Linked DNA regions of Homo sapiens: region 2 is linked to region 1. The links are contacts of gene promoters, found by promoter capture Hi-C in human tissues and cell types (Jung and others, 2019). All regions are on one chromosome and are shown on one strand. The core of a region is centred on a gene start or on the middle of the fragment in contact, and the rest is flanking DNA. Distances in the headings are between cores, read along the strand shown.

Evidence for each region. The method cuts DNA at HindIII sites, captures the fragments that hold promoters and counts their contacts. A contact is called where the count stands out against the background at its distance.
Region 2: a contact is called between a fragment that was not itself captured here and the fragment with the promoter of SNRPG in region 1, in 1 of the 25 tissues and cell types used here (spleen).

Annotation. Positions count from the first base shown.
Region 1 is chr2:70,290,407-70,296,965 of GRCh38, forward strand. SNRPG (small nuclear ribonucleoprotein polypeptide G) reads right to left here and starts at 3,334. Exons shown (of 4, transcript NM_003096.4): 1 at 3,212-3,334. The coding sequence starts at 3,243. It overlaps LOC124906023 (a long non-coding RNA gene), which reads left to right and starts at 3,496. Exons shown (of 2, transcript XR_007086880.1): 1 at 3,496-3,526; 2 at 4,652-5,608. It overlaps FAM136A (family with sequence similarity 136 member A), which reads right to left. Exons shown (of 3, transcript NM_001329752.2): 3 at 5,570-6,559. RefSeq lists enhancers at 2,092-2,999, 3,016-3,495. The HindIII fragment of the contact is 9,687 bases long and covers 1-6,559 here.
Region 2 is chr2:69,712,868-69,719,426 of GRCh38, forward strand. It overlaps a transcript of ANXA4 not described here. Among named protein-coding and RNA genes, the nearest start is that of ANXA4, 26 kb to the right of the region's middle. The HindIII fragment of the contact is 4,609 bases long and covers 1,115-5,723 here.

The sequences.
Region 1 (6,559 bases), core at 2,084-4,583:
ATATGAATTAAAAAAAAATTCCATTTTAGTGGAATACGAGATTAAGCCATGCAGTCAAATCAGTTTTTAATTTCTTCCATATAGGCCAGAAAACATAAAATTTCATTCAATTTTAAAAATTTCATTCAAATTTTAAAATATAAAAAAATGAAAAAAAGATGTTTAGTATATGGGCCACGAAGTGGGGCACTTATTCAATTTTAATGTATAGGATTATCATGGGAAAATGTAAATATAAAACAAGGAGCATGACTGAAGGAGGGAGTAGATACATTTACAAGTAAAAATATATTTATGGGCTGGGCGCGGTGGCTCATGCTTGTAATCCCAGCACTTTGGGAGGCCAAGGCGGGCGGATCACCTGAGGTCGGGAGTTCGAGACCAGCCTGATCAACATGGAGAAAACCCGTCTCTACTAAAAAAAAAAAAAAAAAAAAAAAAAAAAAAAAAAAAAATTAGTCGGGTGTGTTGGTGCATGCTTGTAATCCCAGCTACTCGGGAGGCTGAGGCAGGAGAATCGCTTGAACCCGGGAGGCACAGGTTGCGGTGAGCCAAGATCGCGCCACTGCACTCCAGCCTGGGCAATAAGAGTGAAACTCCATCTCAAAACACACACACACACACACACACACACACACACACACACACACACATATATGAAGTAAACTATATTTTAATAAGATACATAAAACGTATCAAATATAACACACAAGATCTTATACAATCTTTACAACGACTTTGCAATTATGGTCTATCATTTCCACCGTTTTTACAGATGGAGAACTAGGCTTGGAAAAGCTAAAGCAATTTTTCAAAGTCACACAGCAAGTGAGAGCAAACACAAATAGTTCAGTGTGACTGGAGAACGGAATACCTGAGTATTAGCAGCTAGAAGGTTTGGTGCTTGAATGCTGGGTTAAGTACAGACTCGATTTTGCATACTGTGATAAATTATTAAAGCAGTCACTGGCAAGACTACCGTGGCAGCAAATTTTAAGAAGTGGAAGGAAGAATTCAGTTAAGCCAGTGTATCTCAACTTCTATACTACTGACATTTGGGACCAGTTAATTTTGTATTGTTGGGGGCAGTCGAATAAGCAGTAGGATGTTTAGCAGCACCCTGGTGTCTACTCACTAGAAGCCGGTAGCACCAGATTCCCTACTCCCCATTTAAGAACACCTGAGTTATGCTACACCAGAAGGAGGGCATAATGGTGTAAAAGAAGATGCTATCTGTGAGAAAGCAGAGGAAGAAAAAATTTTTAAGTCATTTTGGCGGCAGATCTGACCGGATTTCACAATTCATGAAACCTACGAGGAAGAGAAAGGTATTAAAACTAGCTTCCTTCTCTGAAATTTTCAAAAACTATGTTATGAATCAGAAAGAAAATCTTAGATTACAAGTAGAGAATGGTCTTTTTGTTAAAAAAAAAAAAATCACCATTTCACCAGTCCCTGATGAATCCAGAGGATACTTACATCACCAAAAATAACTTTCAGATAAAAAGAGTAATTTTCACAATAATTTCTGAGTAACTTCTATTTTTTTTTTTTTTTTTGAGACGGAGTCTCGCTCTGTTGCCCAGGCTGGAGTGCAGTGGCGCGATCTCGGCTCACTGCAAGCTCCGCCTCCCGGGTTCACGCCATTCTCCTGCCTCAGCCTCCCGAGTAGCTGGGACTACAAGCGCCCGCCACCAAGCCCACGTAATTTTTTGTATTTTTATAGACACGGGGTTTCACCGTTTTAGCCATGATGATCTCCATCTCCTGACCTCGTGATCCGCCCGCCTCGGCCTCCCAAAGTGCTGGGATTACAGGCGTGAGCCACCGCGTTGGGCTTATGTTTTAATAATTAATTCCTTAACAGACCTAACTAAAATATACATAGAAGTAGTTTTCATACAAAAGATGGCTTTGATACAAATGGACCTTTAAATGCAAAAATATTATTATTTTTTGAAACAGAGTTTCGGTCTTGTTACCCAGGCTGGAGGGCAATGGCGCGATCTTGACTCACTGCAACCTCCGCTTCCCGGGTTCAAGCGATTCTCCTGCCTCAACCTCCGGAATAGCTGAGACTACAGGCGCACACCACCTGCCTGGCTAATTTTTTGTATTTTTAGTAGAGACGGGGGTTTCACCATGTTGGCCAGGCTGGTCTCGAACTCCTGACCTCAGGTGATCCTCCCGCCTCAGCCTCCCAAAGTGCTGGGATTACAGGCGTGAGCCACTGTGCCCGGCCGCAAAATTATTAAATAGGAACTTTACCTTTTGTCTGACTTCCATGGGCCTGGTAATAAATGAACTAACTATACACAAAGCCAACCACATGCTACGCCAGAAAAAACTGATCCCTGTAAAAATTTTGCATCCTTTGTGCAATCCAACTAATACATGTAGAATTCCAGCATCAGGAAGTATAAGCAAAACAGAAACGTAGTCAGGAAACACATAACCTGTTAAGTCCACTCAAAAAGTATTTGAGGAATTCAAAGCTTTACGTTGAGTCCTACCTAAAGTAAGGCTCTCCTACTTAAAGTTGTTTGACTTTACTGGGTGTGTAGAAAAAACTTCAAAAAATTAGCCTTCTCTGACTAGAAAAAATTAATGTTCTTAAAAAAAAAGAAAAATGAATGTTCTTATATAGTTTCAACATCAGAGCAAGATAACACATGACATTCAAGCTTAACGTAAAAGAAGGCAAGAAAAAGGAATGAGGTTTCTAAGTAAAAGCTCAAACACCTACAAACACATTTGCTAAGACTAAAGTGGCTTTCGGATTCTGATGCCTCACGTAGTTTTAAAAACACTTCCTTCCCTTCCAGCCCCTCCTTAGTTCCTTCAGAGAATTTCCCCCTCTAGCCGTCTATCTAGAACATGATACTATTCGAGATGTTCAACAAAAGGTAGCACTGGAGATCTTCAAGGAACGAGGGACAGCGCCGGGTGACCAGGGGCCAGACCGCGGGACCTGGAGACTAGTCGGCCGGAAGGAGGTGCCGTGGCTGCCGGCTGTAACCACACCGACGCGCGAGCTCTGCGCGGGCTTCACGTCTCATGCGCGGGAGCCTGGCCGGGATCCCGGCGACCTCGGACCGGAAGAAGAAATGAAGTGAAGCGGCTCAAGACATTCGGCTAACGGAGAGGGAACCAAGGGACTCGCAGGACGCAAATAACTGACCACTTCGGTTTGGCTCTCACACATACTTACTTTTTCAACTCGGGAGGGTGAGCTTTGCTCATGGTGTATACTCCGCGGGCTCACAGATGCCTTGGAACGCAACGCACGGCTTTCCTCACGCTCCCGCTGTAGGCCCGGCGTCTTGCGTCTGGCGTCATCGACCTCGTTAGCCAATGGATTGTTGGCAGTTTTTACATTTCACCTCGCGATATCTCAGCGCCTCGGTCATCGTTGAGCTTCCGGTTATGTCCTCAGCGATTGGCCAGGACGGAGGGGTGCGTCCTCTAGGCACCTTTCTGAATTCCGTTTTCCTTGTACAAAATTGAGATAACGGGTATTCCACCGGTGGGTATCCCTGCTCTTTTTCTTTTCTTTTTGAGACGGAGTCTAGCTCTGTCGCCCAGGCTGGAGTGCAGTGGCGCGATCTCGGCTCACTGCAAGCTCCGCCTCCCGGCCTCACGCCATTCTCCTGCCTCAGCCACCCGAATAGCTGGGACTACAGGCGCCCGCCACCATGCCCGGCTAATTTTGTGTATTTTTTAGTAGAGACGGGGTTTCGCCGTGTTAGCCAGGATGGTCTCGATCTCCTGACCTCGTTATCCGCCCGCCTCGGCCTCCCAAAGTGCTAGGATTACAGGCGTGAGCTACCGCGCCCAGCCGGTTATCCCTGCTCTTGTCTATGGAACAGCCAAAATAAATAAAAATAAATAAATAAATAAAAAAAGCCGGGCGCCGTAAATCCCAGAACTTTGGATCTCTTGAGCCCAGGAGTTCGAGACCAGCCTGTGCAACATAGCGAGACCCCTTCTCTATTTAAAAAATAAAATTGAGATATTGAGATAACGGTCCCGTCTCTAGCTCCTGGGCAAACCCGGCCAATCCCGCATGTCTGTGGATCGTATCGCTTATTTTCTTCATATATACCAATATACCAAATGATAATGATCCCTGGAGGAATGGGCCTCTCTCTATATATGTATATTTTTTTGAGACGGAGTCTTGCTCTGTCGCCCAGGCTGGAGTGCAGTGGCGCGATCTCGGCTCACTGCAAGCTCTGCCTCCCGGGTTCACGCCATTCTCCTGCCTCAGCCTCCCGAGTAGCTGGGACAACAGGTGCCCGCCACCACGCCGGGCTGATTTTTTGTATTTTTAGTAGACACCGTATTTCACTGTGTTAGCCAGGATGGTCTTGATCTCCTGACCTCGTGATCCGCTGGCCTCGGCCTCCCAAAGTGCTGGGATTACAGGCGTGAGCCCCCGCTCCCGGCTGGGCCTCTATATTTTTTTGGCAGGTAACCCTACAGCATACTGTCAGACCAAGTAGGGTTCCCGTAACATGTAAATTAGCAGCCTCTGAACCATTGTAGAGTAAGGTGACTGGGTCTGTCTCCAAGAATTTGAATCTATTTCTGACTGAGGGGTCTTGCAAAAAAAATTTTTTTTGAGATGAGTTCTTGCTCTGTCGCCTAGGCTGGGGAGCATGGTGTGATCATGGCTCACTGCAACCTCGAACTCCTGGCCTCAAGCAATCCTTCCACCTCAGCCTCCTGAGTTGTTGAGACTACAGGCGCACGCCACTGCACCCAGCTAATTTTTTTTTGTAGAGACGAGGTCTTGCTTTGTTGCCCAGGCTGTTCTCAAATTCCTGGCCTCAAGAGATCTGCCTGCCTCCGGCTCCCAAAGTGCTGAGATTACAGGGGTTAGCCAGCATGCCTGGGAATTCTGAAATTTTTCAAACACTACCTCCAGAACTCACTGATGTGCTATTGCCCCTGTATATAAAATGTGAAGTGCAGCACACAAACATTTTCTAATATAAGGTGTTCTTTTTTCATGTCAAGATGTGTAAAAAGTGGTCTCGGACTTGTTCCCAGTTGTTACCCCAAAATTATAGAAGACTAAACCAAAATAGAATACCTTGTGTTTAAATAGGGGATAGTTCTCAAAAATTCAGTTAATTCCTGATATTCTGGAATGGCTCTATATAAATATCAATGATAGTAAAGACTTAAACTCATCACATATTTTGCACTCTCTTAGTACTCAAAATCCTAGACACTGAATTTTTTCTAGCAGGGTCATAGCTTTGTACCTTTACTACCACTTGCTATTAGTGTTTAGTTGAAGCTAGAGACCTGACATAGATAATGAATTTCTCTTTTTAGCCTCATAGACAGTTTCTTTTCTACATTAATGAACTTCAAGTCACAATGTCCTAGTCTCCTCTCAAAGTTTTTCCCATTTACAGTGAACCAGTTCTGCATCTGAACCATAACAACTAATTTCCACTCTTCTGGACATTTTAACTCATTTAACCTGTTAAAAGGAGAAGCATCCTGAGAAAGTTACATATTCACCACCCAGATATAAGGAAAGAAGACTCAATAGTGGGGAGAAAATTAAACCTTATTTATTTTTAAAGTCAAACCACTAGGAAAATATATCACAGCCTGGAAACAGCAAACGGACAGGCTATATTATAATTTCAAGTAATAAGTTGGTGAAAATTCAACGAAGTTGCTATCAAAACAATAAGGTGCCATGCTGGGGCAGGAACACTGCCAGCTGCACAAGCCCCAGGCAAAAATGGTATTTGGTAATGGGGGCTGTCTCTCCTTTGCTCTAAGGGAGTCAGCTCATCCTAGCCCAAGTTGCTTACTTTTTCTCCCTTGAATTTCCTGTTGCCAGGGGTTTGTCTCAATTGGGCTCTGTTAATTCAGGGGGCTAAGTAGGCAATGCTAGGTGTAGGCTTTCATTCCATATGTTCTAATAAAACCAGGTTTTCCCAAATCCAGTACTTCATTTACTCTGTTGTAATCAAGTAGCCAACTGCTCCTCTTTTACTGTTCATTCCTAGATACTAGTATATATCACAATCAAAACCCCCTTCTCTTCAAGGGGAAAGTGTTACTGCAAGATTGTCCTGTCATTTTGTTACACACAGCCTCAGGGGCCATCAGCCAGTAATTCTGCTTCCCATAATTAGTGTGTCATCACCTCTCATGTTTCTGCACAGTCTCCAGGCTGAAAGATGCAGCATGTAATAATTTTAAGAAATGTACATCCACATCTTGATGACCAGAAATGGGGATCCACAAGGAACATTTCAAAGTTCTTATCCAAACTAGTCTACCTCCCAGTTCCACATCTTAAAATCAACTTGTATGCCCTTGTATAAATTACCCCAAATCAAGAAAACAAAGACCCAGAAAACTTTCTTTCCCTTCTAAGTTAGTGACCTCATTGATTTTGTTTCACAGCTTATGGAAGATGGTGGGGTGACACTTTTGGTAAACAGGATGTTGGCAACAAAGAGAAAATATCTCTCCTCAGACTCCACCAACTCTAACCTGCCAGCCTGTTAGTACCTGTGTAGTA
Region 2 (6,559 bases), core at 2,169-4,668, 580 kb before region 1:
CACCAGGTTTGTGGACGCCTACCACCATTCATTCATTGCAGTGGCTCAGAGAAGATGAAAACAGGACTCTTTGGGGCCAATGAAGATCCCCAACAGAGCTCAGATGACCAGAGTGGACTGGCTTCTACCCTAAATACATACAACAATACTTCCCACTCTGACCTTGCTCACTTTATACAACACCACACAACTAGAGAGTGGCAGAGCTGCTGTGGGAACCCAAATGCCATCTGACTCCAAAGCCTTACTCTCAACCACCACCCTGCTGCCTCCTATTCTTTCCTGAAATCTTCAGTATAGTCATTATTATGAAGTAAAAAAAAAAAGAAAATGAAAGGATGGAAGGAAGGTAGAGGGAGCCCCTCTATCTCCATTCTTTGTTTCCATGAAGAACCTCTACTCCATTTTCAGGGGAGTGCTATTGGTGTAACACACTTTCTGGCCCTCTCCCTCCCATTCTTGTCACTCATTCTCCCCAAGGAAGAAGCGATATGTGGATGATAAGATTGGAAGAAGCCACTCTTATGTTCGGTGGTGTGCTGGTAAATGTTTAGCAGCTGGCTCTGGGGCAGAGAGAAAGCCCTGAATTGTAGTATGTGCCAATCTCCATGGTGTAAAAACACTTCTACCATAGCTGCTTCCAAGTATGTAAATTGTACACCTCAATAAAGCCAATTTAAAAAGTAAAGTCAATCAGTTTGTAAAACTCTTGAGACTTTAACATTCAGTCCAGCAAGCTGTTACCTGCCGGATCCAGCAACACACAACCCGTAACATAACGAGTTGGGTCTCAGCTCCCCGCTCTTCACAGACTCCAGAGTTCTCTCCCCTTTGTGGGGTTCCTCATCCATCCTTCCATTGCTTCTGCTGCTGCCCTGAAGGCATCACCGCTCTCCCGTCTCCTCTTGGGGCACCTAACTCTCTTAACAGTTTAGGACTTTGAGGAGTTTTGCCTTTCACAAAAAGAAAGAATGGGGGAAAAACGGTTATGCCTCAGCAGCTTTCGCTGTCTACCCTGCAGCACAAATTCCACTTGATGGAGGAACACAAAGGTCGGACTCCCTGCCGTGAAGAGGAGAAAGGGAAATTCGAATATGGAAGGAGCTCTACTCTCCCTTGCTCTGTCCTCCGCAAGAGAATGGGGCAGAACATTCTTTAGTCTACACCTCTGTCCCACATGAGTTGCCAAAGACCACAGTGCCTGGTGGGTGACATCTCTCCAGGCTTTTGAAGACATCTGAGCCTGGATTTTGAGCACATTCCTGACCTCCCTACTGGGAGGCTCTTCTCCTTCAAGGTCTGCCTTCTGACAAGCCCTAGCTCTTTCCCACCTCCAGTGGCTGGGTGGGCCGGGGGGTGGGGTAAGGGTGGAGATGTGGGCACATTCTGGGAGCCCCACCAGAACCCCATGGAGTGGAGAAGTGACCTTCTAAGGAGGGGAGCGTACAGTTTCCGGAAGGGAGGAAGGATGCGGTGAGGACCAAATGCATCCATGCAGGATTTCAAATATAAACGACTCTATAGAATACAAGCACCTACTCCTGGCAACCGAAGCCGAAGGAAGCCTAAGAATATAAGAGACGGGGCTTCGGCGAGGGCACGTGACCGAAAACTCACATAACACTCCACCTGCCCCAGTCCAGCCAGCCTGCTGTCCACAGTGTGCCCATCAGTGTATCAAACCTCAGTGCTTTATTTCCTGGGATCCTGGCCGAGCTCCCATTAACCTCCTGTGTTGTCCCCACAGCTCCTATACATGGGAGAGGGCCTGCGTTGGGCCAGATCCCAGAGCTGGGGCCTAATTTGTGATGGGATGCCCTGGGAGGCAAGCGTGCTTCAGCATGTACCCAATCAATAGCCAGACACCCAGGTCCGGAGGTGCCTGAGTCGGTCAGCAGGACGTTGGGCAGGTCTAGGTTCAGAACCTCTGCAGTTTTTCCCTTGGCTTCCCCGGGGCTTGTCCACAACGCCCCCTGCTGCCCATTCTTGGTTAACCTTGTGTCTTGTGGATACCTCATCAGATCTGTTCATGAAGCCTAACGCAAGGTCCTCCCTCCAGGGTGACACAGTGAAGTCAAGTAACAGATGTGGAGATGCTTTGGAGAGCTTGAAACAGAAGACTACATAATAACAATGGGCCAGTATCATAAAGCCAAGATTGAAGAAGACAGAACTGAATATCTCCCTCATCTGCAAAACTTGCCTTATCTTTCAGTATCATCCTGTTTCAGTGGACAGAAATCAATCCATCATATATTTGAGCCCTGCTCTTATAACCAAGTTAAATTTTGCCTAAAATAAGGCCCTGCCTCAAGCAAATCATGGTTTGTTTTTTATTTTATTTTATTTATTTATTTTTTGAAATGGAGTCTCGCTCTGTCACCCAGGCTGGAGTGCAGTGGTGCAATCTCCTCTCACCACAACCTCCCCCTCCTGGGTTCAAGCGATTCTCACCTCAGCCTCCCAAGTAGCTGGGATTACAGGTACGCACCACCATGCCTGGCTACTTTTTGTATTTTTAGTAGAGACGGGGTTTCACCATATTGGCCAGGCTGGTCTTGAACTCCTGGTCTCAAGTGATCCTCCCACCTCGGCCTCCCAAAGTGCTGGGATTACAGGCATAAGCCATCACGCCTGGCCAAATCATGGTTTAGAAAAGGGAGATGGTCAAATATAATTGTTATGACTGCCATAGTACCTACTATGTCCCAGATAATTTGCCTAGGTTTTTAACCCTCACAACACATCCCTAAAACATTGTACAGATGCAAATGCAGAGGCACGAAGAGGCTTAAAACATTCCCAAAGTCACATAGTTACTATAAAGCCAGTAACTGGCTCTATGTCTATCTGAGTCCAAAATGTGTTTTGTCCCCTTCTGTGCCTATGCACAGAGGGCAGTGGGAACATAAATGGAGGTGGAGGGAGGGGTAAGAAGGAGACATCAGTGGTCTACCCTCTTTATGTGATAACAGACTCCCTCTTTTATCTGGCAGCTGCTCCCTCAAGAGGAATACCCATTCTTTCTTCCTAGGTCAAGAAAGAGAGTCCAAGGCATGGTCAATCACAACACTGTCCCTCTAGTCATGGGCCAAGTGCTGGGCACACGTCACCAGCCAGGCTACTCTTAGCCTTTCCCATAATTTTAATAACCTGAGACTGGGAGAAAGAAGCCTCACTCTCTCCTGGAGTGATCAAACTGTATGTAAGTCTAGAGTTCTCTGTGAGTACAGTCTCCTCTAGCAAGAAAGGATGAGACCAACTCATAATAAGAAGCCAAAATACATGTACATATGAGTAAGAGAGAGAGAGAGAGCTGACAGCATTGTTTGGGTGTCTGGATCTAGCCATTCCTGTGGTGGCTCTGTCTAGTCCTTACTTAAATGAGTTAATACATCCCCTTTTAACTGAAGCTAGTTTGTGTTGGGTTTCTGTCCCTTAAAGTCAAGAGTCCTGAGAAATACAATACTGGTCAAAAAAAGTCTTCATAGAACAGGTGAACCAGGAAAAAAGGGATTCACCAGAAAGATAAGAGGAGAGGCAGAGGGTGAACGTAACAGCAGCTGCACTCGAGGAACTGCGAGCAGCTCAGGATGACTTGAGCTGAGATGTGCAGAGGGGGTTGGAGAGACGGGCGAGAGCCACATCAGGGAAGGCCTTGTTTGTCAGGTTAAAATGTTTGGTCTTTATGTGAGGGCGACAGGGAGCCCCCAAAGGGTTTCAAGCAGTGGTGTGACATGCTCAAGCTCGTTTTGAGAAGATCACTCGGGAGAACGGGTCTGAGAGACAGCACAACAGGAGGGCAGCGGATTAGTTATGAGGCTGCTCCGGGAATCCAGGTGAAGAGCTCAGGATGGAAAATGACTCGACGTTTTTGACTTGGTCATTGGCCAGAGGGGAGGGCAAGAACGAAAAGAGTTGTGTTTTGTTCATGTGCAGTTTGAAGTAAGTATCATACATTTAAATGGAATTGTCCAGTAGGTTTACTAAAAGAGATGACAGAGTTGGCGATGTTTAAGTTTTTCTGAGTCATCAATTCAGCTGTTTGCTGTCTGCCTACTACTGGCCAAGCACTGTGTGGAGGAGAACACCGTCCAGCCTCTGCTCCCTGGCATCACACTGTGGCAAGACAAAACAGATGATAACCAGAGAAACCAATCAAGAAACAAGGGAAGTGCAGGGGAGACCGTAAAGCAGCATCGTGTAGCAGAGGGGCTGGGGTGGGGGCTCCATCTCTTCAGTGGTCCTGGAAGGAGGAGCTGACGCCCTGAGGGTGCAGGAGGTGGCTGAAGATGAATATTCTCCAATTCATGCCCACTGAATAGGAACATGCCCATTTAAAAGCATCCATATGCATTTTGTTTGGCTTGTTGGTTTTCTTTGCCTGCCTATGCCTTCAAAGCTGGCATTGAGGTGGCAGGAGGCTTCTGTGCAGAAAACTGAGGCTGGTGCTGGAAAACTCCCACCATGGCCCCTTTGTTCTCATCCAGTGCCTTTCATCCCACACTCCCAAAGCCCATCCTGGCGCCCACCCTTTAATTGTCAGGCCTGGCTCATCGACACAAGCAGGTGGCATTTGATCATTATTCCTGCATCATAAATGAGGGTAACAAAGGCCTCCCTCTCCAGGGTATCAGCCAATATTATTTTGTGAGTTCAAGGGATCTGACTTTGAGTTGAAGCAGAAAGGCCTGATGTCCCATCCTTTTCATTTCTGGAATTACCCGTCGCTGCATCTTTCTGTTACCGCCATTTCCTCTTTAACTCCACGTATCTAACTGGAAACTTTGCTTTTCTTTGTTTCATCTTCTTTGGAATATGTTGTTCCCTGTGACCCCTCCCCACAAAGCCTTGCCTCTGCAGCAGATGCCCTGAGCCTTCCTGATGCCTGGGACTGGTACCTCATCCAGTTTGCTTGTTTCAGGCACTAACTAAACTAGAATGTGCCTGGATCCCTATGGGCCTTGGCTTTCTACCAGATGACAGGCAAACTAAGAGACGTACACAACCTATGCACTCCCTTCCCTCTAGAATGTTTCAGCAGGGGTCCTCTAAGTAAGAAAGCTGGAATTAAAAGGAATAGTTTTAATGGGGAAACCCTGGCTAGGGAGATGCTTGATACCCTAAGGCTGTATGTCTAGCTAGGTCAGGCATAGCTCAGTGCGGTCTGCATTTCATAGCAGATGTTTAGTTTGGAAAGTCCCCTGGCTACTTGGCTTCTAGAGCCCTCTCTCACCATGGGACTTCTCTGTGGGAGGACAGAACTCATCAATCACATTCTCCAAATGTCAAGTTCCTGCTGTGTAACCCCAGGAGAACCTTGCTTCCCATCTACATAACAGAAGTGAGGACCCCAGATTTGCTAGACAAAAGCTTGAACCTGTGGGGAAAGGTCCCCCCAGCTGGTCAGAATTCCCAAAGAAGGCTACCACTGGGAGATGGATTGCAATATAAATGGCACCCCCACCCTCTGGATGTTTGTCATTTCACCCTTCCTTCTTTACCTGACAATCTCTTAAGAGATTCTTGGGGGGATGTAATACACCAGCCAGGAACTAAATTATATTCAACTTTCTCAAGTAGATACTATTTCAGCTACGTTTGGGAAATGCTTAGCCAGAATTTGAGGTCACTGGAAGAGGTCATAGAATCACTCAGGTTCAGACTTGTGGAATTACTTACACTTTCCAGAACCTGTCATGACTTCTTTGGCTCCAGGGCTTTATACCTGCTGCTTCTTGTGCTTTGGGGTTTCCTTCTCTCCCACCAGCCCTATCCACAGCACACACATGCATACACAAACATGTACACACGTATACACATGCATGCATGCACATGCGCACACATGCACACACATGCATACACAAATGCACACACATACATGCATACACACACATACACACACATTCACACACATGCATACACATACGTGCATACACACACATGCTGCACACATGCACACACATATACATGCACACACATACATGCATACACATGTGTGCATACGCACATGCATACACACACATGCATACACAGCATGGCCTCTGCTTGTCCTTCCAGAGTCTCTTATAAAGCTTTTCCTGATATTCCAAGTCTCAAGCTAGCTACCCTCCTTTTTTTTTTTTTTGTGACTGAGTCTCACACTGTCACCCAGGCTGGAGTGCAGTGGCACAATCTCGGCTCACTGCAACCTCCACCTCCTAGGTTCAAGTGATTCTCCTGCCTCATTCTCCCAAGTAGCTGGAATTACAGGCACCTGCCACCACGCCCAGCTAATTTTTTGTATTTTTAGTAGAGACAAGGTTTCACTATGTTGGCCAAGCTGGTCTTGAACTCCTGACCTTGCCACACCCCCATTTTTACAGTTTTCTAACCATTGACTATTTTCCAGTCTTTTTTTTTTTTTTTTTTTTTTTTTTGAGGCAGGGTCTCGCTCTGCACCCAGGCTGGAGTATGATAGTGCAACCATAGCACATTGCAGCCTCCTGGGCTCAAGAAAGCCTCCTGCTTTCAGCCTCCTGAGTAGCTGGGACTACAGGTATGTGCCACAACATCCAAG